Linked DNA regions of Homo sapiens: all the other regions are linked to region 3. The links are contacts of gene promoters, found by promoter capture Hi-C in blood cells and fetal thymus (Javierre and others, 2016). All regions are on one chromosome and are shown on one strand. The core of a region is centred on a gene start or on the middle of the fragment in contact, and the rest is flanking DNA. Distances in the headings are between cores, read along the strand shown.

What was found. The method cuts DNA at HindIII sites, captures the fragments that hold promoters and counts their contacts. A CHiCAGO score of 5 or more calls a contact.
Region 1: a fragment that was not itself captured here is called in contact with the fragment with the promoter of TXK in region 3 in 1 of 17 cell types (erythroblasts); the score reaches 5.4 in erythroblasts.
Region 2: a contact is called between a fragment that was not itself captured here and the fragment with the promoter of TXK in region 3, in 2 of 17 cell types (erythroblasts and megakaryocytes). The highest score is 8.8, in erythroblasts.
Region 4: a contact is called between a fragment that was not itself captured here and the fragment with the promoter of TXK in region 3, in 1 of 17 cell types (megakaryocytes). The highest score is 6.1, in megakaryocytes.
Region 5: a contact is called between a fragment that was not itself captured here and the fragment with the promoter of TXK in region 3, in 1 of 17 cell types (naive B cells). The highest score is 6.3, in naive B cells.
Region 6: a fragment that was not itself captured here is called in contact with the fragment with the promoter of TXK in region 3 in 3 of 17 cell types (megakaryocytes, erythroblasts and fetal thymus); the score reaches 10.1 in megakaryocytes.
Region 7: a contact is called between a fragment that was not itself captured here and the fragment with the promoter of TXK in region 3, in 2 of 17 cell types (erythroblasts and megakaryocytes). The highest score is 11.9, in erythroblasts.

Annotation. Positions count from the first base shown.
Region 1 is chr4:48,462,607-48,466,439 of GRCh38, reverse strand. No RefSeq gene overlaps it. Among named protein-coding and RNA genes, the nearest start is that of SLC10A4, 19 kb to the left of the region's middle. The HindIII fragment of the contact is 377 bases long and covers 1,412-1,788 here.
Region 2 is chr4:48,524,447-48,527,803 of GRCh38, reverse strand. FRYL (FRY like transcription coactivator) reads left to right here. Exons shown (of 64, transcript NM_015030.2): 53 at 151-327. Among named protein-coding and RNA genes, the nearest start is that of ZAR1, 36 kb to the right of the region's middle. The HindIII fragment of the contact is 5,857 bases long and covers 1-3,357 here.
Region 3 is chr4:48,132,819-48,136,613 of GRCh38, reverse strand. It overlaps TXK (TXK tyrosine kinase), which reads left to right and starts at 2,364. Exons shown (of 15, transcript NM_003328.3): 1 at 2,364-2,459. The coding sequence starts at 2,444. TEC (tec protein tyrosine kinase) reads left to right here. Exons shown (of 18, transcript NM_003215.3): 18 at 1-831. RefSeq lists a silencer at 2,628-2,922. The HindIII fragment of the contact is 7,086 bases long and covers 1-3,795 here.
Region 4 is chr4:48,563,557-48,566,999 of GRCh38, reverse strand. It overlaps FRYL (FRY like transcription coactivator), which reads left to right. Exons shown (of 64, transcript NM_015030.2): 29 at 1,309-1,469; 30 at 1,957-2,067; 31 at 2,898-3,052. Among named protein-coding and RNA genes, the nearest start is that of ZAR1, 75 kb to the right of the region's middle. The HindIII fragment of the contact is 1,731 bases long and covers 841-2,571 here.
Region 5 is chr4:47,671,553-47,675,408 of GRCh38, reverse strand. CORIN (corin, serine peptidase) reads left to right here. Exons shown (of 22, transcript NM_006587.4): 10 at 909-1,016. Among named protein-coding and RNA genes, the nearest start is that of MIR8053, 21 kb to the right of the region's middle. The HindIII fragment of the contact is 5,425 bases long and covers 1-3,856 here.
Region 6 is chr4:48,546,059-48,549,615 of GRCh38, reverse strand. It overlaps FRYL (FRY like transcription coactivator), which reads left to right. Exons shown (of 64, transcript NM_015030.2): 39 at 1-143; 40 at 823-926; 41 at 1,847-2,032; 42 at 3,345-3,549. Among named protein-coding and RNA genes, the nearest start is that of ZAR1, 58 kb to the right of the region's middle. The HindIII fragment of the contact is 5,569 bases long and covers 1-3,557 here.
Region 7 is chr4:48,503,966-48,507,638 of GRCh38, reverse strand. FRYL (FRY like transcription coactivator) reads left to right here. Exons shown (of 64, transcript NM_015030.2): 60 at 2,024-2,092. Among named protein-coding and RNA genes, the nearest start is that of ZAR1, 16 kb to the right of the region's middle. The HindIII fragment of the contact is 1,594 bases long and covers 722-2,315 here.

The DNA of each region.
Region 1 (3,833 bases), core at 351-2,850, 330 kb before region 3:
TCCTTGTCAGCTAAGAAGCTCATGTCCCAGGACAAAAAAAAAATTGTCATCTTGCACCCCCTTCCTTGCCCAACTTTCTTTTATTTTTTATTTATTTTTTTATTTGTTTGTTTATTTATTTATTTATTTTTGAGATGGGGTCTCATTCTGTCGCCCAGACTGGAGTGCAGTGATGCAATCTTAGCTCACTGCAACCTCCGCCTCCGGAGCTCAAATCAATCCTCCCACCTCAGCCTCCAGATTAGCTGGGACTACAGCTGCGTGCCACCATACCCAGCTAATTTTTGTAGAGACAGGGTTTCACCATGTTGCCTAGGCTGGTCTTGAACTCCTGGGCTAAGGGATCTGCCCATCTCGGTCTCCCAAAGTGTTGGGATTACAAGTGTCAGTGACCCTGCTTGGCCCCCTTACCCCATTTTCACACAAGCTTTCCTGCCAAGATAAGTCAAGAGAAACTGCATTTTTTTTTTTCAAGCTAACTGTAGGCAAAATTGACCCTACTTATCCAAATAGGCCCAAGTTATTTCTGAGGCCTTTGCACTTTTTTTTTTCTCCCTTTATCCCACTTCTTAGCCCTACCCTCTCTTCTAACTCCCTGGCACCTTGTACCACCTCATTTTTCTAAATCCCAACTAAGTGTGTTCTCCCTTATCTACATCTCATGCCTCCCTTCTACCTAGTACAGGATGGAAGGACAGGCAGAAGCAGTTGGTGGGGGGCGGGGGGTGGACATGCTTTAAGGCAAACAGAGCCAAAGTCCCATCTGGAAGGAATTCCACCCCACTCTGTAACACTGTTGAGGAGAACCAAAGCCGGCACTACCTACAGACGAAGGCAGGACTTTACCTAGAAAACAGGCTGAACCCACTCCAACTCATGGTTCCATGATGAGTGAGATCCCCAGAGTTCCAGAGGATAACTTAGAAAACTTTGGCCTAGAAAAAGGCAGATGTTACGAGTTGTCTACCACAGCCATAGAAAAATCTCAAAAGTGGTCTGAAAGAAGATCTGTCTTCAGCAGTTGAACTTTGTGAACCTACCAGGGCCCCATATTCATTTTTTAAAAATCCTTTGCACCTATTCATATTAGGCAGTCAGTCCACAAATTATTTACTGAATATTTATCATGTGGCATCATCCTAGATTCTGAGAATACTAGTATGTAGATTGCATTACGTTTTTAAAAATAAGCTAACTTTAAGTGATTCTATAATCATATGCTATGAGGAAGAGAATATTTGGATAACCTGGCTGGGCATGGGTGGGGGTGGTTAGGAGAGCCCTGTCTCTGAAGGCAGCATTTGAGTTGGGACCTACCTAAGAGGAAGGTGGTAGCCATGTGAACTTCCAGGGGAAGGGCATTCCAAGCAGAAAGAAAACAATTGCAAAGACCTTGAAATGGGAAGAAGCTTGGCAAGTTTCAGGGACAGAATGAAGGCATCCAATACGTGTTTGTATTGAATGTGTGTATATTGAGTATCTCATAACACACATGACTGGGAGCGAGCCTCGGCAGAACTTGAACCATGGCATTAGTGCATTATCAATTACTTTCTTTTAATTCCGTGAGTATTTAGAATTGTCTCTTCCCCTCTCCCTCCCCCCACCCACCACACCCCAGTGGTAGGCACTGGACTAAATGTAGAAGATAAGAGATGCATCCTAAAGTGCCTGCCTTGAGCAGCTCCTAACTGGTGGTGGAGACAGATCCCTAAGGACACAGTTAAGGCAACTTTTTAAGTGAGTGACGGCCCTGGAGTGGGGATGTCACCAGGGCCTGTGGAAGCTTTCTTTCATTAGAGGAAGAAAGGCTAACTCCTCCAGGAGAAGGACAGAGAGCTTTTACATAAGAGGTGACCTTTGAGTTGAGCCTTTTAAGATGAATAGGATTTAACAAGATTAATTGTTCCTGGCAATACCTCAGACTAGATATTCTGAAAAATTCTCCAGCTACAAAACACCAAAACTGCTGAATTAAATACAATAAATAGTCTTTGAAAACCAGGAATGTAGCATCTGCCAATACTAGGAACCCAGAACCCTGGAGAGAGGCTGCGATGGGGGTAAGCAAAGACAGGGCACAAGAGACAGAACCCAGGGCATACACAGGTGGGGAGTAGGAAGTGGGACTGCCCACATAAAGCCAGAGCCTTGAAGGGCCACAGCCTCCTCACAAAGGTAGGAGAGGAAAAAGTATCTGTGCCTTAGCGAAGGCAAAGCACATAAAAATGTATCTTGTTCATCTCAGCCTAGGTGCTAGGGAAGAAAAAGAGAAAACAGAAATGTCTCCTGAGAGAATTAGTAATGACAGCCAGCCCAACTGTCACCCAGACTGGGGTTTGACTACACCAGTAACTCCATTTACATCCCAAAATTCCCAATGGCTCAAGAATGTACAGCACCATGTACTTGAGGAAGATGGGGCAAAGGATAGGCCAACATCAGGAGGTTTGTTAACGATGCACTTTGTTAGGTCCACCCTTAAGGTTTGTGGATTTCTCAGTATGTAAGTTATATCTCAATAAAACCTGTTTTCAAAGGAGGAGAAGAGGTTCAAGTGTGGGAGTAGGGGGAGAGGAGTAAAAGAAGAAGTAGAGGTTGTTAAATGTCCAGTTCTACACTCCAGTTTATGTGTCTGTACAACTTCCCTGTTATGGACTGAATGTTTATGTTCCCCCAAAATTCATATGTTAAAATCTTAACACCAATATGATAGTATTACAAGGTAGGGCTTTTGAGGGGATGATTAGGTCATGAGGGTGGAGCCCTCATGAATAGGATTAGTGCCCTTAAAAGGGATCCCAGAGAGCTCTCTCACTCTTTCTGCCATGTGCGGATGCAGTGAAAAGACAATATTCTGCAACCCAGAAGAAAGCCCTCACCACAGCCAATTTATACTGGCACCCAGAACTGTGAGATATACATTTCAATTGTTCATAAGCCACCCAGTCTATACTACTTGGTAGCAGCAGCCAGAACTGACTAAGATGCTCCTCTCGATGGGAGGTTTCTTCTCTGGAGAAGGTAAAAGAGTCTCTGCACTGGGGGATATCAGGAAGAGTTGAGGGCACAAATACGGTAAGCAGAAGAATAGGTGAACGTGTGCAAGCAGGATACTGTGCTTTCCATAGCTTCTTTCCTTCCACTTGGTTTTCAGAACCTACAAGCTGTGATCAAAAGATAATGACACTGAAGACCCCCTAATAAAATGGCCCAGCCAGACCACCCTTGATGCCTTTCAAACCATCCTCACACCATTCAGATGTCCCCTAGTTATTTTCAGAAATAATTTGAGACTTTACCTATGCATCATTTTTAAGATATTGGATTTGGGGTCATAAGTAAACATTTTTTCTCTATAAACTTCAGCTGAAAAATGTATTGAGAGGCTGCATTCTGTGAAGTTGGGAGTATTGAAAGCCAAGGGGTCTTCTAGCAGGAAAATATCACCAGAGGAATGCTCTGCCAGTCCCCTCATGCCCTGGAAATCCTTCCTCCAACTACACCATCCTAGAGCTGAGTGTCGGGCGAGCCTCAGCAAGAGGGGAGGCTTACGGCCAAGCTTGTTCCTGGGAATTTCCACCATCCAAAATAAAGGCTACCTCCATGGAGGAGAGGGGATACTTAGTGAGAAATTTATCAGTCATTAAAAACAGATGCTGAAAAGATGTTTTTCCCCCTCTTGTCTGATTGGTGAGTTAGAATTTGATGATTCAAGTGGTTCCAGAAAATCAGATCCATGACTTCGGTTTGTACTGTCCTTTGTCTCAGCTACTGGGTTCTATCTTTATGGCTGCATTTAGCAGCATTACAAAGCCACCTGGGGTCAATTA
Region 2 (3,357 bases), core at 1-2,500, 390 kb before region 3:
TGTGTTCAACTAGTTAAACATGAAGACCAAATTTAAGCTGTGAATTCATTGAAGAATGAGGCCTGCGGTGGCTTTGGGGTACTGATACCTCATACGCAGAGTGACAAATCTGATGGATGGACTTTTTTTTTTTTTTTAATCGGGCATCAGGTTGTATTTTCTTCTAATGAGGATTTGGAAGTCGGTGACCAACAGACTAGCCTAATTTCTACAACAGAAGACATAAATCAAGAGGAAGAAGTAGCTGTGGAAGATAATAGCAGTGAACAACAGTTTGGTGTTTTTAAGGATTTTGACTTTTTAGATGTTGAATTGGAAGATGCAGAGGTAAGGATGTGGGCTTTCTCTGTTAATATTTATAGAACAGTTGTATGAGAATTAAGGATTTGATCACAGGATCATTCCTTATTGAGGTCAGTGTAAGGTCAAAAAGGTAAAAATCTAAATTAGGAATTAAATTTGATTACCACAATTAGTCAATAGAATAAGTCTGAGATAAAAGAGAAACATTCCATTTTTCATCTTTATCTTTAAAAATATAAAATTAAAAAATGGCTTCCTTCAAAATTATTTTCAGGGTATGCTTAGACTTAAATGTTTTGCATGATTTGTCTTACAAACTAATATGCAGCCAAATGGTAAAAATTTATATGAGAATTGATTAAGGACAACTTTAAAGAGAGTTGCACTTACCACTAAATTGCACATTCATCAACTCTCATGTACATATACATATACTACTCATATACAGCTCATACACATTCATCAATTCTCATGTACATATACATATACTACTCATATACACACTTACCACTAAATTGACATATCACAAAGGGTTTGTCTTTCTAGAACTCTTCCCTTTGGCAAATGACTGAGCTTCTTTCTTTGACATTCGAAATCACTTTCTTCTTTATGATGTAGGTAACTCTCTCAAATGCCTGGTTTCATTTAATACTCAAAGCGTTTCTCTTCTAAATTGATTTAGTCTGGATTACATTATATTGGTAGTTATGTCAGTTGAGATGCTTTCTAAATGGAATTTAAAACTCAGAAAGTAGATTTATTAGCCCACAAAACTAGTCCAGAATTAGAGCTTATATTTAGATATGGCTCAATGAAGTTTCTGGCTGTTTATCTGCAGTTCTCTAGGCTCTCCCCTTCTCTGCCAGTCAGCTTGACCTCAGATAGCAGCAAAACCGTCTTCATTGCTGGGTAATCTTAGCCCCACACACAGCAGTGTTTGAAGGAGGTGAGGGTCACATCCAGAAATGCTCTCAGAAAAGTAAGGAAGCTGCTTTCCTAAATGGTCTTAGCAAACTTCTTGTAACATCTCATTGGCCCAAATTAGGACACATGCTACTTTCTGAAACAACCACTCTAGTGAATAGAATAGGATTACCCTGGTTGTCTTAGGCTATTAGAGATCCATTTCTGTAGCTGAGCTCAGTTCCCTAAACCACAGTCTCTTAACCCTGAAAGTTTATATCAAATAGATTTGTTTTAAACATGTACATTTTGAAATTGCTACAAATATCTGTATGCAAGAAGACCAAAATGCCTTAATACCAAGTATCTGTATACCATATCTTGATGTATCTTTTTCTAAAGAATCAAAACTCATAGCTCAAATACATTTAGCTCTCATATACATATACATATACTATTCATATACAGCTCATACACATTCATCAGCTCATATACATACACATATACAACTCATATACAGCTCATACACATTCATCAACTCTCATGTACATATACATGTACTACTAATATACAGCTCATACACATTCATCAGCTCTCATATACATACACATATACAACTCATATACAGCTCATACACATTCATCAACTCTCATGTACATATACATATACTACTCATATACAGCTCATACACATTCATCAACTCATGTACATATATACATATACTACTCATATACAGCTCATACACATTCATCAACTCTCATGTACATATACTACTCATATACAGCTCATACACATTCATCAGCTCTCGTATACATATACAACTCATACAGATCATACACATCCATCAACTCTCATGTACATATACATATACAACTCATATACAGCTCATACACATTCATCAGCTCTCGTATACATATACATATACAACTCATACAGATCATACACACTGATCAACTCTCATGTACATATACATATACAACTCATATACAGCTTATACACATTCATCAGCTCTTCTTGTAGGGGTGTTTCCTTTGGCTCTAATAGGTGAGGCGGAGGAATGAAATGTAATGCACTCTCCCGTATCACACTGTTCATTGTCCATGGAAGACCAGTTTGAGGAAGTAAAGTTCCCTCTCCTCAACATGCCTCAGTGCCCCCTGCAGATGTGAGGATGTGACCATGGTGCCTCCAAGTAATGCAAATGCCTTCATGTCAGTTTAGGAGCTGTGTAGGCTCCTATGGAATACTCCACCATTTACATTTTCCCAAAGACACAATTGTACAGGTTCATAGGAACTCAAGAACAGGTATTATTTAGCACCTTTCAGAGCAGTAGCTTTTAAACTTTTTTTTGACACTAATCCACAGTTAATACATTTTACATCACATCCAAGTGTGTGTATATATATATATATATATATATATATATATATACCTTTAAAAATAAAAGTTGCAAGAATATGCATCCAAACTCTATGCTGTGCATACTGATATTTTCTATTCTCTTCCTTTTCATTCTTTTTTTTTTTTTTTCAAAAAGTGTAGGTTACCACCCTAAAATTAGTTTCACACTCATCATTTGAAAAAATATATTGTAGGAAATAGAACAGACTTGCACAACCAAGTAACGGAGTGGAATAGGTTAAAGAGACCTGCTGCCCTACCCAAGGCCAGGAGCAGCTTCTAAACTCTTCTGTAGTTAGTTGCTTTTTTCAGTCCAGAATTTAAATTTCTAAAGGCAGCTCTTGACATTTTTGTAATGGTAAGGTTATTTTTCTTTTTGTTTGCCTCTTGTTTAAAGAGAACTGTAAATGCTTTCAAGTTCATTCAGTGCTCTAAAATGTCAGTGGTAATAAACATGGCTTTTAATAGAACCTTAGAATGGACTAAGGATGTTCATTTGTAGTTCTGTCTTTAATTCAAGTCACAGTAATCAGGGGTGGGGTGGAGCACGCTAATTTATCCCTCATAATTACGCCAAATCAGCGATACACATTTTCTAAAACCTGGATATAGTCTTGTTTAAAACATGGTAATAGGAAATACTTTGATTGCTACAAAACAAACTTAACCACTAATGAAAATTATAATAAAATATCTCCTCACTTTGAAAGCCCACAGTGCATATTCATTCACTCACCAAATATATAT
Region 3 (3,795 bases), core at 1,115-3,614:
CTGTCCAGCTTAACCACGTGCATTTGGCCTATGTAATCCTGCCCATGGTGGCCGCAGCTAATCAGAATCAGATGGAAAATTAAACCGGGTAATCTACTTCTAAGCCTTAAGAATATTCCCTGGGACACAGACACTATAATTGGAAGTGCTGAGCTCTGGGGCAGAAGGATCAGGTGACCTTCGCAACAAAGTTTGCCCCCACCTCACATAGGACCCGGAAGCAGCCTGAGCTGTGGCGGAGGATCCAGGAAGCTACGGAGAGAAGCAGCCAGCATGGTGTTCCGTGCCTCCCGGACGTTTTTCAGGAGGCCTGGTTGGACTTGGGTTCCTGGATGGTGGGATTGTTGTACAGCCTCTCAGGAGACCCTGCTGTCAAGACTGTGTGTGTGGATTTCTCACCCTTAGAAGCTCTACTAAGACATCAACGGAATTAGGGCCTTCCTTTTTGCCTTGTGAGCGCCAAGGAAAAGAAACTATCTCGGTCACGTGAGCGCCAGCGAAAAGAAACTGTATCAGTCATCCAGAGACCGTTTATTGCCCAACACGTTATTCTTGCTGTTGGTGGGGTAACTAGCCGAGGAAGACACAGCGCCTTCCCTTCAGGAGTTGCGTCTCCTCTGCAGGCCACGATGGTCTGCTCTGGAGCATTGGGTGAACACACAGGCTGGCTGCTCTGGGCAGCGCCTTCACTCTGACCCTGGAGAACCATTTCATTTCATCCTGGTCAGTCTAGAGTCTGTGCACCAGGCAGTCCATCCACTGAAGGCTGTGTTTATTCTTTTCCTGTGCCCCTCATAATGGAAGAAAGTAAACTGCTTATCCCGAGCCTTATCACAATCTGCCACATTCCTTCTTGTCTACCTGTTTAACTGTACCCCCATCACAAAAACAGGCACAACTTTTTTTTTACATTCCAGGGTACATGTGCAGGATGTGCAGTTTTGTTACATAGGTGAACGTGTGCCATGGTGGTTTGCTGCACCTATCAAAAACTCATCACCTAGGTATGCATTAGCTATTTTTCCTGATATTAGCCTGATATATATATTTCCTGATATTAGCCTGGCATGCATTAGCTATTTTTCCTGATGCTCTCCCCTCATCTGCCCTCCCCAACAGGCCCCAGTATGTGTTGTTCCCCTCCCTGTGTCCATGTGTTTCATGGTTCAGTTCCCACTTATAAGTGAGAACATGTGGTGTTTGGTTTTCTGTTCCTGCATTACTTTGCTAAGGATAACGGCTTCCAGTTCCATCCATGTCCCTGCAAAGGACATGATTTCATTCTGTATAGCTGCATAATATTCCACGGTGTATATGTACCACATTTTCTTTATCCAGCCTATCATTGATGGGCATTTTGGTTGCTAACCATGCACAACTTTTAACTGACTTGTAGCTCATTGAAGGAGTCGGTCCTGGCACACTCTACCTTACTATCACTGTCAGCCTTTTCTCCTTCCTTCCTGACCTTCCCTCCTCCCATCCCATACTTCCCTTTTCACCTTGAGGAGCTACGGGAAGTACTAGGTGGTATGAAAGAGAGTGAGGAGAAGATAGAGTCCCTGTCCTAATGGTCAGTGTATGCTTTTTATGGGAAAACAAGATAGATAGCACCTGGCAACATTTGTCAACATTTCCTTCAAAAATCTTTAAATATTTTTCACTAAGACTTAGAAAAAAAGTTTTATACGAAAGCATAACAAAGGCAAAAGGTGAAGTAAAAATAACAGTCATCACCCAGAATGCTAAGGAGACCTTAATCTAAACCAGGAAATTGGAAGGGCGATTAGAATATGCTGTGTCTTCATTAAAGTTGCTCTGTTAATTAGTTGACACATGGTTATGCTTTCCAGTGGGATGAAGTGAAACTCCCAAGTGTGTTTTGTATTGTTGGTGTTTTTATATTTCTCAGCCATCCCCCAATCACATTTTAGGGTTATTACTAGATTGACTTCCCCCAAATAAAGTGTCTGCTGAGTGGGAGGATGGAACATTCTAAACTCAATATTCCAGAGCCTAGAATCTAATTGTTTCTGCCACTCACGGTGTGGCCTTGGGCAAGTCCCTTATTCTGTCTGTGCCTTCATTTCCTTCCCAGTCCAGAGAGGGCAGTTTGATTTGATAATTTTAAAGGTGCCTTTTACCAAAATTTTGTGATTTCTTGAAAATGATGTTTGCGAGTCACCCACACCTTTGGGGATGAGAGACTAATAGCAGATACCCTCAGAGATTGGGATGGAGATTACTGAGCTTTCTTATATATGCCATTGGTTGTCATTTATACTCTTCTGAGGTTTTCAGAACAGGAAAATAGGTGGGGTTAACTCTGCCCGTGAGAAACATCTTGAGCGAACTATGATTTCAGTTGAAAGATGTGTTTTTGTGAGTAGAGCACCGCAGAAGAACTGAAGACTGTTGTGTGCTCCCCGCAGAAGGGGCTACCATGATCCTTTCCTCCTGTGAGTAAGATGGGCTTTGTCATTTATTTTTGGGGCTTGTTCTGGGGCCTGTTATTCTTGAACAGCAGAGGAAGTTTTTTTTTTCCAAGGCATAGAGCTTGGGGACATTAAAAGATAATTTCCTCAGATGTTGTGACAGAGTTTTGTTTCTTATTTAAAGAACCACAGTGATGATGTAATTCTAATAAAGGTTCAGCATTGAGAACATAAATGAAAGAAAAACAGAAAGAGTGTCCAGAAATCTGCATATGTGTGTGTAGAAATGCAATCAGTATGAAGTACTTGTTTTTAGAATGAGACTGTAATGAGCTCTGGGCTGAAGGCCAGGAGACCAAGTTCTAGTTCTGGATTTGCTCCAGCAGTGGTGGATCACAGTGGGCAACTTTATATATATATAAATACACACACATACACACACACACAAATAAATATCTATATTTAAGGCAAAAGGAAGAGAAGTCAAAACACAACTGTGTTTATACTCTGAAATTATCTGCTTTATCAAGTAAACATATAGACTTAACCTTTATTTTCACAGGGGTATTTATTCACAATTCTATGTAGACTTCCGTTATCGAGGACCTTTCCCAAGCAATTGAAATTTAGGCAAAACTGATTCTTATCTGCAGTCAGAGCCTGAGTAAAGGCCAAAATAAGAGTCAAAGTCACGAGTCTCTACCTGGTTAAAAGTGTGAACATGGTCAAGTGTGAACACTGGCTCAAATGTCTCTTTCCCTCATATATAATACTACATATGAAGATGTTATTTTAATATTTTTATAGAATATAAGACCATCATTAAAAATAAGTGCTTGTTTTAGGAGAACAGAGAAAGATTCCCTAGACACTGTTATCTGTGAAGATCCTTGGTTTGAAAGAGCTGTGGGGGATGCTTATAAATCCAAAGAAATTAGAATAAAAAAAAAAACCAAGCAGAATAGTCTTCTAAATAAGAAGGCAGCCGTCATATCAGAATTGCAATGTGTTTGTTTCTTTATAAAGGTATTTATTGAGCACCTACTATGGGCCATGGTCTATACCAGTTCCTTTATATTCATTATCTGAAATCTTCACTACAAACTGGCAAGGTGAAAATTGTTATTCTTATCTAGCCAATAAGAAAATTGTGCCTTTGAAAGTTTAAATCTTGCCAGAAACTCATATGGTTGTCAGACGCAGGATTTAAGTATGAGACTTTTTTTTTTTTTTTAGACAGAGTCTTGCTCTGTCACCCAGGCTGGAGTGCAGTGGCACGATCTCAGCTCACTGCAACCTCCACCTCCTGGGTTCAAGTGGTTCTCCTGCCTCAGCCTCCCGAGTAGCTGGGACTACAGGC
Region 4 (3,443 bases), core at 457-2,956, 430 kb before region 3:
AATAGAATAAGCTCTTTAGGATAGCCTTGTTTTAGATGCAATAAGCAGAGTGCAGTGTCTCATGATAATTGAGAATAAAATTAAGAAGATACTTTTGAATAATGGGAAAAGAGTATAGGCCATAAATACAAAATGTAACAAGGATACCGTGTTACTGATTTACCAGATATGTTCCAATTATTGAGTAGGGTCTATATCGACAGATACTGGTTTAGATACTAGGAAGATTAATATACACAATTACATTTTTAAAAGTTAAATTATTTACAACTGTAAGAAGTAATGTGACTAGCCTTTGGCATACACTATAAGTGTTTCTTTTTCTCTTTGAAAAATTAAAGTCACATTGTTATTTTGAATAGTATATACAGACAGTGGATACCTAAAGAACATGGGTTGTATTTTATAACAGGGTCATTAAGCACTTAATTACATATGTCAATTTCAACTGTAGGAGCCTTGTTTTCATCTTTGAAAGGAAAATGACACTGTCAAAGGAAAAGAGCATATTTTTTTCGAAATTTTCTGATCTGAAGCTCACTAATATAAAGATGTGGTTTAGTCTATTACTAAACACTTTTTTACAACTTCCACATTGGTTTATTGTGATACTGCTGAGTTTCTTCAAGAAGGATAGATGTAGAGAAATTATATAGTAGAATTTCAAAATGGGGGAAAAAAATCCTTGGAGATCATTTAAACCAGTGGTTTTCAAACTTTGGTGTTTCTCAAAGCCCTGAGGTTCTCTGATGCCATCCGCAGAAAGCAGCAGAATGTGTTTGGACACTAGGCCTGAACTGCCCTTTTATCTGTTTTATATACTGAGATTACATGTAAGCTTCCTTTAGCAGGAAAAGGCAGCTTTCCTGCTGAAAAAAAAAAATAGAAAGTTTGAAAACACGTATCTCGTCCAAAGCCCTTACTTACCAGTGAACCAAGATACAGAGGTGTGTCTGTGTTAAAATCTTGGCCAATCTTACCATATAGCCAGTGATAGCCCAGGGAGAAATGGACTCCTGGCCCCACCTCTGTGCCAGCCTTCATGTGCCATTGAGCCTGCCATGGAATTTCTGCTTGCAGAGATGCTCTATGTCATGTAATGCTGGGACAGGGTGACACAGACTGCAACTTTGTTTCTGTGATTTGCATATATATAAATGATCCCTGCTACCGCGGAGGTTTTTGATAGTTTAAAATGAAAACTTCTGCTTTCTTTTTTACACTATTACACATTCAATAACATGTTGGTATAAAAGTTAAAGCAAAAAGAAATGGAAATAAATGTTTTCTATCTTTTTTTATTCACAGTGCACCAGAGAAGAAGTATTTTTCCTCAACAGAGCCTTCGTCACAGTCTATTTATGCTGTTCAGTCACTGGGCAGGTCCTTTTAGCATCATGTTTACGCCCTTGGACAGATACAGTGATAGAAATATGCAAATTAATAGACATCAATACTGTGCGTTAAAGGTATTTACTTAGAAACCTGATTTCTTTTTTCTTAAGAGCAGAGTTAAGTATTTTTAAGTCTCTCAGTCACTAGTATTAAAAAGAGGATCTGAGAGTATTAAAATGTTTTTCTGCCATATTCAAAACTTATACCATAAGTTATATTTAAATACATAAAATACAATGAAAAACAGTTCCAGAATCTACTCAAATTTGATCACCATTATCTTAAAGAACTTAGGATTACTTGAAAGAAATGCCTTTTTTCCCTTACTTAATTACTTTTTCTTGGTCTTTTTATCTTCCCTTCCAGTACTGTTCAAACTCCATGTCTAATTTGGTATCATATTTACTTACTCATAATAAATTTCTCAGTTTTAAAAAATAATTTGTAAAGAAAAAAGATTAAAGTATTGTGACTAGATAAGTATTTTGCCTCTTCTCATTAAGCAACCAACATTTAACCTCTTAAATTTGTTAAATGTAATTCTAATATTATTATTTGAAGGCTATGTCTGCTGTACTGTGTTGTGGCCCTGTTGCAGATAATGTAGGACTTTCATCAGATGGCTATTTGTACAAATGGTTGGATAACATTTTGGATTCTCTGGACAAAAAGGTAATTATGACAATTTCCTTAAAGGTTCATAATAAGTTGTCATTGTATTATTTGCAGTTAATGTATGTTGCACTAAAAACAAGTCTTTTAAAAAAATAAGATAGGTTAGGATCATATGCAAAAAGCATATTATATAAAGTTAAATAGGATCCCATAATGTAAAAACGTTCCAATTCTTATGTATCATTAATTTGAATAATTTTCATTTCCCTTTTTATATTATAGGATTAATACAGTGGTATGTGTCTCTCAACAGGGTTCTAAGTCAATAAATAAAATACCAGCATAGAACATATTGAGCTGCATGGGAAAAATATGTTATTTGCTATGTTTCATTTCGTTTTTTTAACCACTTTCCATTTAATCATTCCTCCTTGCCCTCCACACTCTGCCTTCCTTACTCTCATATTGTACATATACAGACTTCACAATTTAAAATAGGACTTACATTTTTTCCCCTCAGAACAGTTTTTCTATTGGGTTATCAAAAACAAGAATAAAGCTTGATAAAAATAATTGGAGAGGTTAATGACTCATTTTTCTGAAAGCACCTAATCACTATTCATATTCATTAACTGCCTTCAGGGCTCTGTTGGAAGACAAAATCATACTAGAGAGGCTCGCGTAAAAAGCGAGAGGCCAAATTCAGTTCATCTGTGTGGTTTTTTCTGCTGGCTGAATAAAATGAGAGGGAGGTGAACAAAAGGAGATGGAATTTTTCTATTAATTACAATGAATATATGCACTATATTACTTTAGTAAGAACTATAGGGAAATAGACAAAAAATATATAACGTTCTCTCTCGGGCAATTTCACAACCTTTACCTAGGTTCACCAGCTGGGCTGTGAAGCAGTTACGTTGTTACTGGAGCTGAACCCTGATCAGAGCAACCTGATGTACTGGGCTGTGGACCGCTGCTACACGGGCTCCGGGAGGGTGGCGGCCGGCTGCTTTAAAGCCATTGCTAATGTTTTCCAGAACAGGTACTTTAGATACAGGTTTTTTGTTTCATTTTGTTCTGTTTTCTTAAAGAAAAGTTTTTCTTTTGAATTCAAAAATAGGAAGACACCAGTTTAGTTGTCCTTCAGTATCTGTGGGGGATTGGTTCCAGGACCCCTCTCAGATCCCAAAATCCATGGATGCTCTAGCCTTCTATATAAAATGCTGTAGTATTTGTATTTACTCTATGCAAATCCTCCCGTATACTCCTTTTTTTTTTTTTTTAGACATGGTCTCGCTGTCACCCAGGCTAGAGTGCAGTGGCATGATCATAGTTCACTGTAACCTCAAACTCCTAGGCTCAAGTGATCCTCCCACCTCAACCTCCCGAGTAGCCAGGACTGTAGGCTCCCACTACCATGCCTGGCTAATTTT
Region 5 (3,856 bases), core at 446-2,945, 460 kb after region 3:
GCACATTAGTGGTACTGGAAAGGATAAATATTTCAGTATAATAAACATCATCTTAGAATTATAGGTAAGAATGATTATACATACACACATACTATTATTTATACTTAAAAGTGCCTTGCAAGGTTGACTAGATTCCAGATGACATGCCTGAAGGTAATTGATCGTAATGGGGGAGAGAGTGAATGGGCAGTAATTTATTACCTTCTCCATTTAATCTACAAATGACCAGGGAATCAAGGAAAAGCAGTTTCCTCTCTACCTACCTTAAGGAAAAATCATTAGGGCAAACACTGATACTACTGCTGTCATTCACTTAGAAACAAGAAACCCAGTTCTCAAGTCATCACAGCTAGGCTGATGACACTTTCCAAGGACATATTGAAAATATGGATAACAGCTGCATAACACTTGTATTATGGTAAAGTATCCTTATTGTATTGGTGTTGATGCCCTATTTATTACTAGAGAAAGCATTTTCCTTAGAGGGAGACTAGAATTGGGAGCAAATGAGTCTTAAAAAAGTGTCACTTAATATTCAGAATTTCAAGATTTTTATAACGTTCTCTGTCCCTCAAATCTCTTGAATTTTATTTTGTAATCAAGTGTTGGCACCCATGTAAAAAGAAAACACTATTTTTTTCCCATTAAATGCAACAACCACCTGTTTTTAGTGTAGTTTGTCTCTTATTTCTTCATTCCTATTTTGGAATACCTGGATTGTATTTAATTACCAGGAAAATGAATCCAGAAAGCACCTATTCAACGTACGTTCAATACTTTTGGAGAAATTGGAAGGAAATTAAAGTTGTGTTATTCCTCAGCTCCATCAGACATTCCTGATCTTTTAGATCCTTAGGTAAGGAATTTGTAGATGATGAAAGCCAATGTGCCTTTTCCTCCCTCTGTAGTTCAGACTTCATGTCAAGAAGGAGACCAAAGATGCCTCTACAATCCCTGCCTTGATTCATGTGGTGGTAGCTCTCTCTGTGACCCGAACAACAGTCTGAATAACTGTAGTAAGTACAACAGCTGACAAATGCAATAGCCATGTCAGGGCATGCATTCAGCATTTTTCTTCTGCATTGACATTCAAATACTGAAGTCTGGAATCCCTCCAAAAAAGCCTACCTATTTTCTTTTTCTTTTTAAAAGGTCGCATGTGGTAGCAGTAAAGAAACCAAATGGTCTTAATTAACTTCAATCAGAAACAAATGTGTCATTGCGAACGCCTATAAGTCCACATTGCTTAATATCATTACCATTACTTTCAACTCAGCATTAGTTCTCTGTATTATTTTCTTGGCTCCATCTGTAGGCAGATGCTATCTTTCTTCCTTTTTAAAGCATAGCTTCAAAAATGGAAACTTTAACCAAGAAGCAAATATGAAGTTCATAGAAATAGCCACATACAACTTTGGCAATCTGTTCTGTTTTTTTTGAGACACACTCTCACTCTGTCACCGAGGCTGGAGTGCAGTGGCCCCATCTTGGCTCACTGCAACCTCTGCCTTCCAAATTCAAGTGATTCTTCTGCCTCAGCCTCCACAGTAGCTAGGATTACAGGCGCTAAACACCCTCAGTGATCCATCTGCCTGGGCCTCCCAAAGTGCTGGGATTATAGGCAGTCGGTTCTTTTAATGAAATTTATTCTCGCCTTTCCAGGAACTCTGATGACCTGTAATGGTTTCGGAACCATTAGGCTAATTTGTTTCGGTGACAGTGTAACAGCTCCAAACGGTGTAAGCAGGTGGCTCTAAAATGACTTTCAGGAGGAGGAGTTATTTGGGGAAGACAGAATGGGCGGAAGTGAAAGAGCACCCTATGGACTCTCATGGAAAATGGAATCAGAAAATCCCCAGCGACTGATTTCTAGTAATGATTTCTGACTCCTGGGCTCTGTTTTCATGTTATACTCGCTTCTTTCACTTTTTCTAATGAACTTTTTGCTGCATTTTCAGGTTGGGATTAGAAATTTAAAAGCAGGTCAGTCAGTTTTCAGTTGGCAAGAGGATATTCCTTTTTTTTTTTTTTCTGAGACAGAGTCTGGCTCTGTCACCCAGGCTGGAGTGCAGTGGCACGATATCGGCTCACTGCAACCTCCGCCTCCCAGGTTCAAGCGATTCTCCTGCCTCAGCCTCCCAAGTAGCTGGGATTATAGGCACACACCACCACACCCAGCTAATTTATTTATTTATTTATTTATTTATTTATTTATTTATTTATTTATTTTTTGGTAAAGATGGCGTTTCACCATGTTGGTCAGGCAGGTCTCAAACTCCTGACCTCAAGTAATCCACTGGCCTTACAGGCGCGAGCCACTGCACCCAGCCAGGGTATTACTTCTTAACACATGTCCTCTCAGTCTAAGGCCCTTGGAAGCTGGGATGCTGAAAGTCTTCGGCCTTGCATTTGCTGCAGTTTCGCGGTCCTAATTTTTCTGGGTCACTGTAGAGCTTATAGTGAGTACCTCTATAACTGTTACAGAGTCTCAAGGGGGTGAAAAAAGGAGGCTGGGAAGGGGGTGTAGGCAGGCAGCTAATTAACCCAGACTGACAGGATTGACTGTGGCATTTAATAACTCTTTGCCTGGAAGCACATGCCCACCCCTCCTCCATTTCCCATATGAGAGAACAGTAGATATTAGTCAAGCCACAAAGTCAACACACTCAAACTGCCATTTTACTTCCTCTAAACTGATTTAAATAGAAACTGATTTAAATAGAACATATCTATAGATATGCATATATATGTGTATATATGTGTGTATATATATACACACACACACACACGTATAACATATTTGGGCCACTGTTTCCATTGTTTCATTTTACTCGTCTCTCAATCTGCCGTGGAAATTTTTCAGAGCGATTTCCTTACTTCACCTTCAACTTAAATAGTGACAGTGTCATCTCAAAGACATGTGTTTACTATTAAAGTTTTGGGGGTTGTTTGACATGGAATGACACTTACTATTAGACTCAAAAATGTAGAAAAGGCAATGTTAGCCTGTGTCAAATTTGGGTAGGAAGTGACTGGGTGTATGTTATCCTATTTTCTCTATATTTGAAATATTTCGAATTTTAAATATTTAAAATATGTTGTCTCCTGTCAAAAGAATAAATTGTAGGAAAGGCAACTGGATAACTCTTGGCTCATAGAGCTGACCAATATTTGTAGTGTGTACATGATGTTCCAAGCATCGGGATGGGCGCTGGGCTTTCTAGTGGTGGAGAAAGGAGACAGGCTTCTAGCTTCTTAGAAGTCACTTTTCAGTGTGGGAGAACATATTGTCATCTTCCCACTGATATATTCTACACTGTTGTTCTCTTTAAGCTCTTTAAATACACTCAGTTTACCTAGTGTCTCACTGTGTCACCAGCTTCCTCATTCATCATGTATATTCTTGCCAACTTCTCTCCACATATATTCAGCAAACGTTTGCACCTGCTCTCTTCTGAGTAAAAGCCACTAGGCTAGCCACTTGCCCTCATTACTCCTGTGTTATTAAAAATGGCACATAGGCCGGGCGCGGTGGCTCACGCCTGTAATCCCAGCACTTTGGGAGGCCGAGGCGGGTGGATCATGAGGTCAGGAGATTGAGACCATCCTGGCTAACATGGTGATACCCAGTCTGTACTAAAAATACAAAAAAAAAAATTAGCCGGGCATGGTGGCGGGCGCCTGTAGTCCCAGCTACTCAAGAGGCTGAGGCAGGAGAATGGCATGAATCCAGGAGGTGGAGGTTGCAGTGAGCTGAGACCGTGCCACTGCACTCCAGCCTGGGTGAGAGATCGAGATTCCGTCTCAATAAAAAAATAAATAAATAAAAAATAAGGCGTATGTGCCTAACTTGCAG
Region 6 (3,557 bases), core at 1-2,500, 410 kb before region 3:
ATGCCACTTTATTCTAATTGGCGACTGAAAGTGATGGAGCATAACCAAGGAGAGCCACTGCCCTTCCCACCAGCTGGAGGCTGCTGGTCACCACTGGTGGATTACGTGCCTGAAACGTCATCACCTGGATTACCTCTTCACAGGTGGACTACAGCGTCATTCCTTTTACATATGCACCAAGTTGCTGCTGAACACTGTCGGCTTTCTTTGTGCTATCTGACAACACAGAATGAAAGCAATCTTCTTTATGGAGATACTGCAACACAGATCAATGTGTTTAGATTCTAAGAAATCTAAAAAACTCAGAATTCTAACTTTATAAAATTAATATTATTAAATCTAATTCTGCTGCTGCTTTTCTGGGTGTCTGGCATAGTTACTTGACCTTTCTGGGACCCAGTTACTACATCTGAAAAATATGACTTTCCTATGGTAGGCACTATTATTTTGCATCGAGTTAAATTGAATTCTACTTAGCAAAATCACAATAGAGCAATTACTGCATTCTTTCAAAATGTATTAATGCACCAAACATGTATTGAACACCTACTGTGGCAAGCAGTGTGCTAAGTCTCAAGGTTGAAAGATGAAGAAAATGTGGCTCCTGAGTTCAAGGAACCCTTAGCCCTTATGTTCTGTTCCATCTCTTTAACTTAATGGTTAACGTTTTCTTCAGCTGTATTTGTTTTTCCTCCTTTTTCCTTGATAAGTTGTATTTTTCCATGAAATGTGATATTAAAGTCTTCAAGTAATTTTGTACCAAATTCTCTCTAGGTTTACTGAGATCTAGTAAAACGTTAATGAAACTCTTATTTGTCATAGGTGTAACATAGCAGTGATCCTTTTGACTGATCTCATCATTGATCATAGTGTGAAGGTGGAATGGGGAAGCTACCTCCATCTTCTTCTTCATGCAATTTTTATAGGTAATAAATATTTGGTTCTAATTCTTTCATGTTATATTTTTATGATAATTTAAAAGCAGTATGGTTTTATGACAGTTTTTATGTGTTTCTGTTTCCTGTTATTTTTATGTTATTTCCATGACACTTTTCACTATGATTCCTCTGGTCTCTTGGGGAGTTATGTCTGGCCCCTCTTCTAACCACAAACAAACATGTCTATTACCCCCATTCCTATTCCTATCTTATGGCCTCGCCTGCCCACACACAAACACACATATACTATACCAAGGAAAAATTCTGTGGCTGTGGCAAGAGTCAAATTAACTTAACTCTGGGATTGGAAACTTTCAGAGTGAATGAAAAGTTGAGATAGGTTCTAAGTATTTCCCAAAAGAACTGGGTTGTTGGATAGCCTCATTATTATACCTGAAACTCCATCGTGCCTTCTGTAGCAAACATGTGGGATCTACCATATCTATAATACATTTGATGCTTATAGGATTGGCTTCCTGAAGCAAGTCCAGATAGCCATCTCCTTATAAGTTTTCCTGATGGGCACACTTAATGTTGGTGTATTACATCATTCCTTCAGTTAATCATGTACTTTCTGTTATGTGCTAAGCACACAAAAAACCCTGCCTTTAAAAAAAAAAATTCATTTCCATGAATTTTTTTATGTTATGTAACAGAAATAATTTTTAAGAGATCACTAAATTTTAGACATGAAACACATTTAGCTTACCTTGAGTCTCCCTAGTACTATAAGACAGTAGGCTATTGTAAAAGTATATAAGAACTCTAGGGCAATAAAAAACCATATAATATGTCACCTTCCATGAAATCTTTCATATAATTTCTCCTTTTCTTCAAAATGTGAGTTTGGTAGTAAGAATACTCATTATTTCTCTTTATTGATAATGTTTCTCTACTATCCTTTTTAGGGTTTGACCACTGCCACCCTGAGGTGTATGAACATTGTAAACGCCTGCTTCTGCACTTATTAATAGTAATGGGACCCAATAGTAACATCCGAACTGTTGCTTCTGTCCTTCTCAGGAACAAGGAGTTTAATGAGCCCAGGGTGCTTACAGTCAAACAAGTTGCACACTTAGATTATAATTTCACAGGTATTTGCTTTAAATGTACAATTTGAAAGTAGAATTATACTTTATTAATTTGGAATCCTGCATTAGAGAAAGTCAACTGAATAAAAGTTGAAATACTAGAGAACATTTTAAAAATGTAGTTGTATTATTTTAAGTACCATTTAAATTATTTGCTAATAAAAGAAGGGATTAAATTTAAAATATTTGAGTCTGCATTACCTCGAACGATCTTTATCGAGATTTAACTTAGGAATATGTAAGTTGAAGACATAATGAAACTGCTTAATTTATTGAGGACGAATTACGAAAAAGATGTTGAGCTTGTATTAGATTCCTCTTATTTGCAGGATCTGAAAACTGATAAAGTAAGGCATTTTAAATTTTGTTATTCTCGTGATTATATTTACTGCATTAAAAACATACATTTTGAAGTAGTGAAGTCCAAGTTAATGAGACTTAATATGGTTTATTTCACTGTCAATGTTAATTTTTGTTTTTTACTTTTAAGGTATATTTTCTTATATCCTATAACTAACATTTCTTTCATTCATCAGTACCATCAGGCTAATAACAAGTGATCTAGAAACTTTTTTTTCAAAATTGCAATAAAATTACCTTTTTTTTTTCTAATCATACAGTGTCAGATACAGGGTTCATCAATTTTAAAGTTAGTTAAAACCCTGTTATTTATTTAAAATCCTATAGTTAGGAAACAATTATTAGGAAACTTATTAGCCTTTTAAAACTATGATTAAAAGAAAAATGGAATGAAGTTTACTGCCTTTTTATATTAAGGCACCATTATTCAAAATTCCATAGCTTGTTTGTTTTTAAGGCTTCTCTTACCAATTTGTAAATATGGGCATTAGTAATAACCTTTAACAGTTTTTTAAAAAATGATTGATGCACTATGTGTATTTCAGATAGATGAGCCTTTCTGCAATGGAAATGGATCAAAAATTATAGAAAATTTTCTATAAAAAGTTAAAAATCAGTTCATATTATAGAAATGTGACTGACAAGCGATGTTGACAAAATATGCCAGAATATTAGGAAACTGCCACTTGCAAGTTTCTTCAGCAGATGGCGGCAGAGGACTGCATAGTACATCCAAATTGCTAAGTTTTCAAGCTGTGAAACAATGTTTGCCCCAAAACTTACTTGCTGTAATTTGGTGTTCATGAGGATCAGCAGGAGCACTGATTCACATCACCTTGCACTGACAGATTGCCTCATGTGTCCCATAGAGTCTAAGGAACAACAGTTTAATTCTATAGGTATTTTGTGAGATTCTTTCATGTTTTAGGTATTCATGACGATCTTTCTCTTTCAGCAGGCATTAACGATTTTATACCTGATTACCAGCCCTCCCCTATGACTGACTCAGGGCTTAGCTCAAGTTCTACCTCTTCTAGTATCAGCTTAGGAAATAACAGTGCTGCCATTTCACATCTGCACACCACTATCCTCAATGAGGTTGACATCTCAGTGGAGCAGGATGGAAAAGTCAAAACCCTCATGGAATTCATTACCTCAAGGTAACACT
Region 7 (3,673 bases), core at 269-2,768, 370 kb before region 3:
CAGCCTCTATGCGCAGGGACGTGAATATGAATACACCTAGAGTAGAGTAAGCACTGGGGCGGGTATTGGGCTCACTCCGGTACTTTTCTCTAACTAACTAACTGTTTGTTTGAGTGAGTTTTGGCCGATAGGATTCAGCTTCCATCATTGTCCTTGCAGGATTGGTCTTTCTTTCTTTTATACAGGCTACTCCATCACACCCAGAAGTAGAACCTCGACAGTTAAAAATTTTAACCTTCATTTGAACCTTGAATAAAGAAAATGCCGTGACAGGAAGACTGATTGATTAGATGTGAACTGGAGGGTGTTCTGAGCACAAACTACCATGTCTTGTATGCTCTGGCTGGAAAGGTGTGGACCTGTATCTCTCAGGCCAGTGTGCAGCCACAGGACTATATGGTTGGGGTTTGTCTTTTAACAGAATAAAAATCAGCAATATTTTGAATAGTGCCCCCCAAAAGGCTGTATCATTAGGTACACAGTATAAAAATAAGCCATTAAATAAATAATCAACTGAAATTATTTTCAAATTTATTAGTATACTTGGACAAACTGGACAAGATAAGGCATAATTAAGTGTATAAATATTTTAACATTTTGTATGAATAAAGATTAATGCACAGGTTCCATGTTAGATGTCAACTGCATTTTGCTGATACAAAGAAATCCACTGATAGCTTTTGACAATGGCTGCCATCAGCTGTATCTCACTAGAAAAGCTTAACATGTTTTTCTTCAGAGATGCTGTCAAGCAAATAGCCTAAGGGCCGGTGAAATCTGAGAGACTGGAATAAAAGGAAAATAAGGTCAAAGAGATCATTTTTGAAATAACTGAAATGTCAAATTTCAATTCTTTCTTTGTGGGTACAACATAAGCTACAATAGAGAATGTTAAATGTCGAATACTAAAATACTTTCAGAGTAGCTGCTTAATGCAGCTAGTCTGTTTCTCAAAGTCCTAATGATTTCATATATATATATATATATATATATATATATATATATATATATATATATATATATTAGTTGTATTGTTTAATAGTATAATTTAAAAAAAAGAACTTAGAAGTCAAAACAACTGATAATATCAAACTGTCCAAAGCTAGGAGCTTACCTGGAATGCACTTAGCTTTTACTTCAGCTTGGAAATTCTGTGAGTCCAGCGTTCTTTCTTTTCTACTATACCACGGTGCTATTGTTTTATTTATATTTTGCTGAAGAAAATGTACTTTATTTTTGAAGTATTCCTTTTTTTTTATTTTATGTTTTTAGAGACAGGGTCTCCCTATGTTGCCCAGGATGGTCTTGAACTCCTGCCCTCTAGCAGTCCTCCCCGCTCAGCCTCCCAAAGCTCTGGGATTACAGGCAGGAGCCACCACACCCAGCCTGTACTTTTATATCAACATTAGGAATACCCCCAGAGAAGGAAAAACCACATTTGGCTTCTACATCCAGTATTGTTTGGAAATAAATAACATGTTTGTTTGTCATTCATTACTGTCCAAAAAGAAAGAAAAGAAAAACAAAACAAGACTTAAAATGGATCTTGATTGCCGGTTCACAAATTTAAAACTGACACTAGTCTTCTGAGAATTACACTTCTCATAAGCAAACAGACCTACTTAATTCTAAGTTGTCTTTATTAAATTGATCAGAGGGGAAGCACATCTTTCCTTTCCCCGTCTTACGTTACACAAAGGTCAGGCATAGGTTGTAAAGATTTTCATAAAACCTGCAAAATGAAGAATATCCTTTACTGAAATGGAACATCACAGGTCCCTAGAATGGAATGGGTTTTGTTAGTATAGCTGTCACAAGTGTGTGCCTCTTGTTACATTAATGCTATCCCTGCTTTTGTTAGTTCCATATAAATGATTGATTTGGCTTGAATGGAGATAAAAGTCTAGGTCTACAACCAATCCTAGAACTTCAAGTTAACTTTAAGTTTGGTGTTGTATATGGACAGGCTGTTACACTACCCATTTTACTGTGCATATTAAACGTTACTGTTACTTATTTTTAGTGGCTAGATGATTGTAAGAGGACATTTGGTGCCAAAGAAGACATGTATAGGATAAACACAGATGCACAAGTAAGTTTCTTGTTCCTGTTTTTGCAACATACATTTTCTGTATCAGGTAAAACAATGCATGTGTTCAAATATCCTTATTTGATTATTTCTAAAAATAAAGAATATTTGTAAAACTTTTCATTTTGGTTATCAAAACAATCTTTGTAAAAGCTCAATGAAATACTGGTTTCATAATGAAAAATTCACTTTAATAAAAATGAACGACCAGCTTGTGACTGAAGCTTAATAACATCCAATAGATAAGCTTGATGGATATCTGGACAGTCCAGGTCGGCTTTTAAGTTGCATGTGCCTCTTAAAGAAAAATTTGTCCCATGTTAGTATTCTGCTATTCTGTTAGATAAATTGGTCAAGAAAGCAAACCTAAGAATAATGTGATATAATATATCCATGTTAAAGGTAAAATTAGAATTGGATAAATTATAATGTTTTTCTTTAATATAAGGCTCAGTGAAAACAACAGCATTATATTTTCTTAGAAAGGTGCACATACATAAACACATACATTGTAGTAAGTGAGGATAAGTTAGGGCCTACAAATTATTCCAATGGAAGTGTAGCTTCACAGGGGAAAATACATTCATCAACTGAAATTTATTTCCATTTGACATCAGAATTCCAGTCTTTTATATTCTACCTTTGGTTATATTATTACAGATTTCTAGTGTCTGTAAAGGTTATACTATTATTAGGTTATACTATTTATTATAGTAAAAAATTGAAGTTCTGCAAAAACTGCAGTGTTGAGAAAATAATAGTATACTCGCTAAGTGTTAACTATTTGCCAGCCTCTATAGTTTCTTTATCCTTACAACTCAGGCAAGTAGTTGCTCTAATTATCCTGGTTTTGAAGATGAGGAAACTGAGGTTCAGAGATGCTAATTTATCTAAAATCAGCAAATAGTGAAACCAAGATTGAAACCTAGGCAGGCTGACTCCAAATCCTGCACTAATGTTAAAAAGAAACTGCTAAGTCATCTATGTAAAGAAATGAAGATAAGGAATTAACCCTAGACCAGAATCCTTTGGTTCTAATTCTGTCTGTCTTTGCCACTGTTTAACTGCATCACTTCGGCAAGTAATGTAACCTTTTTTCCTACAAAAACTAGGTGTTTATATTAAGTGATTTTTTTATATCCCCTCTACCTTGAAGAAAATTATATCCATCTTAAGATCAAGTCAGTTAACATAGCTTGAGGTTTTCTACGAAGTGGAAACTGAACATTTAACACTTTCATTTATATTTCAGCTCACCTTTCATATTCAACTGTTTTGAGGGTGGAAGACGCTTTTTATGCAATTTGATCTGTCCTTGTGTACCAGTCTTGTCTTTTGCATAATAAGCAGTCAAATATTTGTTAGATGAATAAAAGAATGTGCAAATTTTAATATACTTTAAAATGTGCATATATATACACACACACACACTCATCCACAAAAACTGCACTGTTTTAGCATATTTAGAGTAATTGCTGGTAATTCAGAGCTGTAAAATTCATTACATTTGTGTTATTTCCTACGATCATAAACTTTATCAGCAGTTTATGTTCCATTACATCCCAAAGTAGAGGCTATACATAT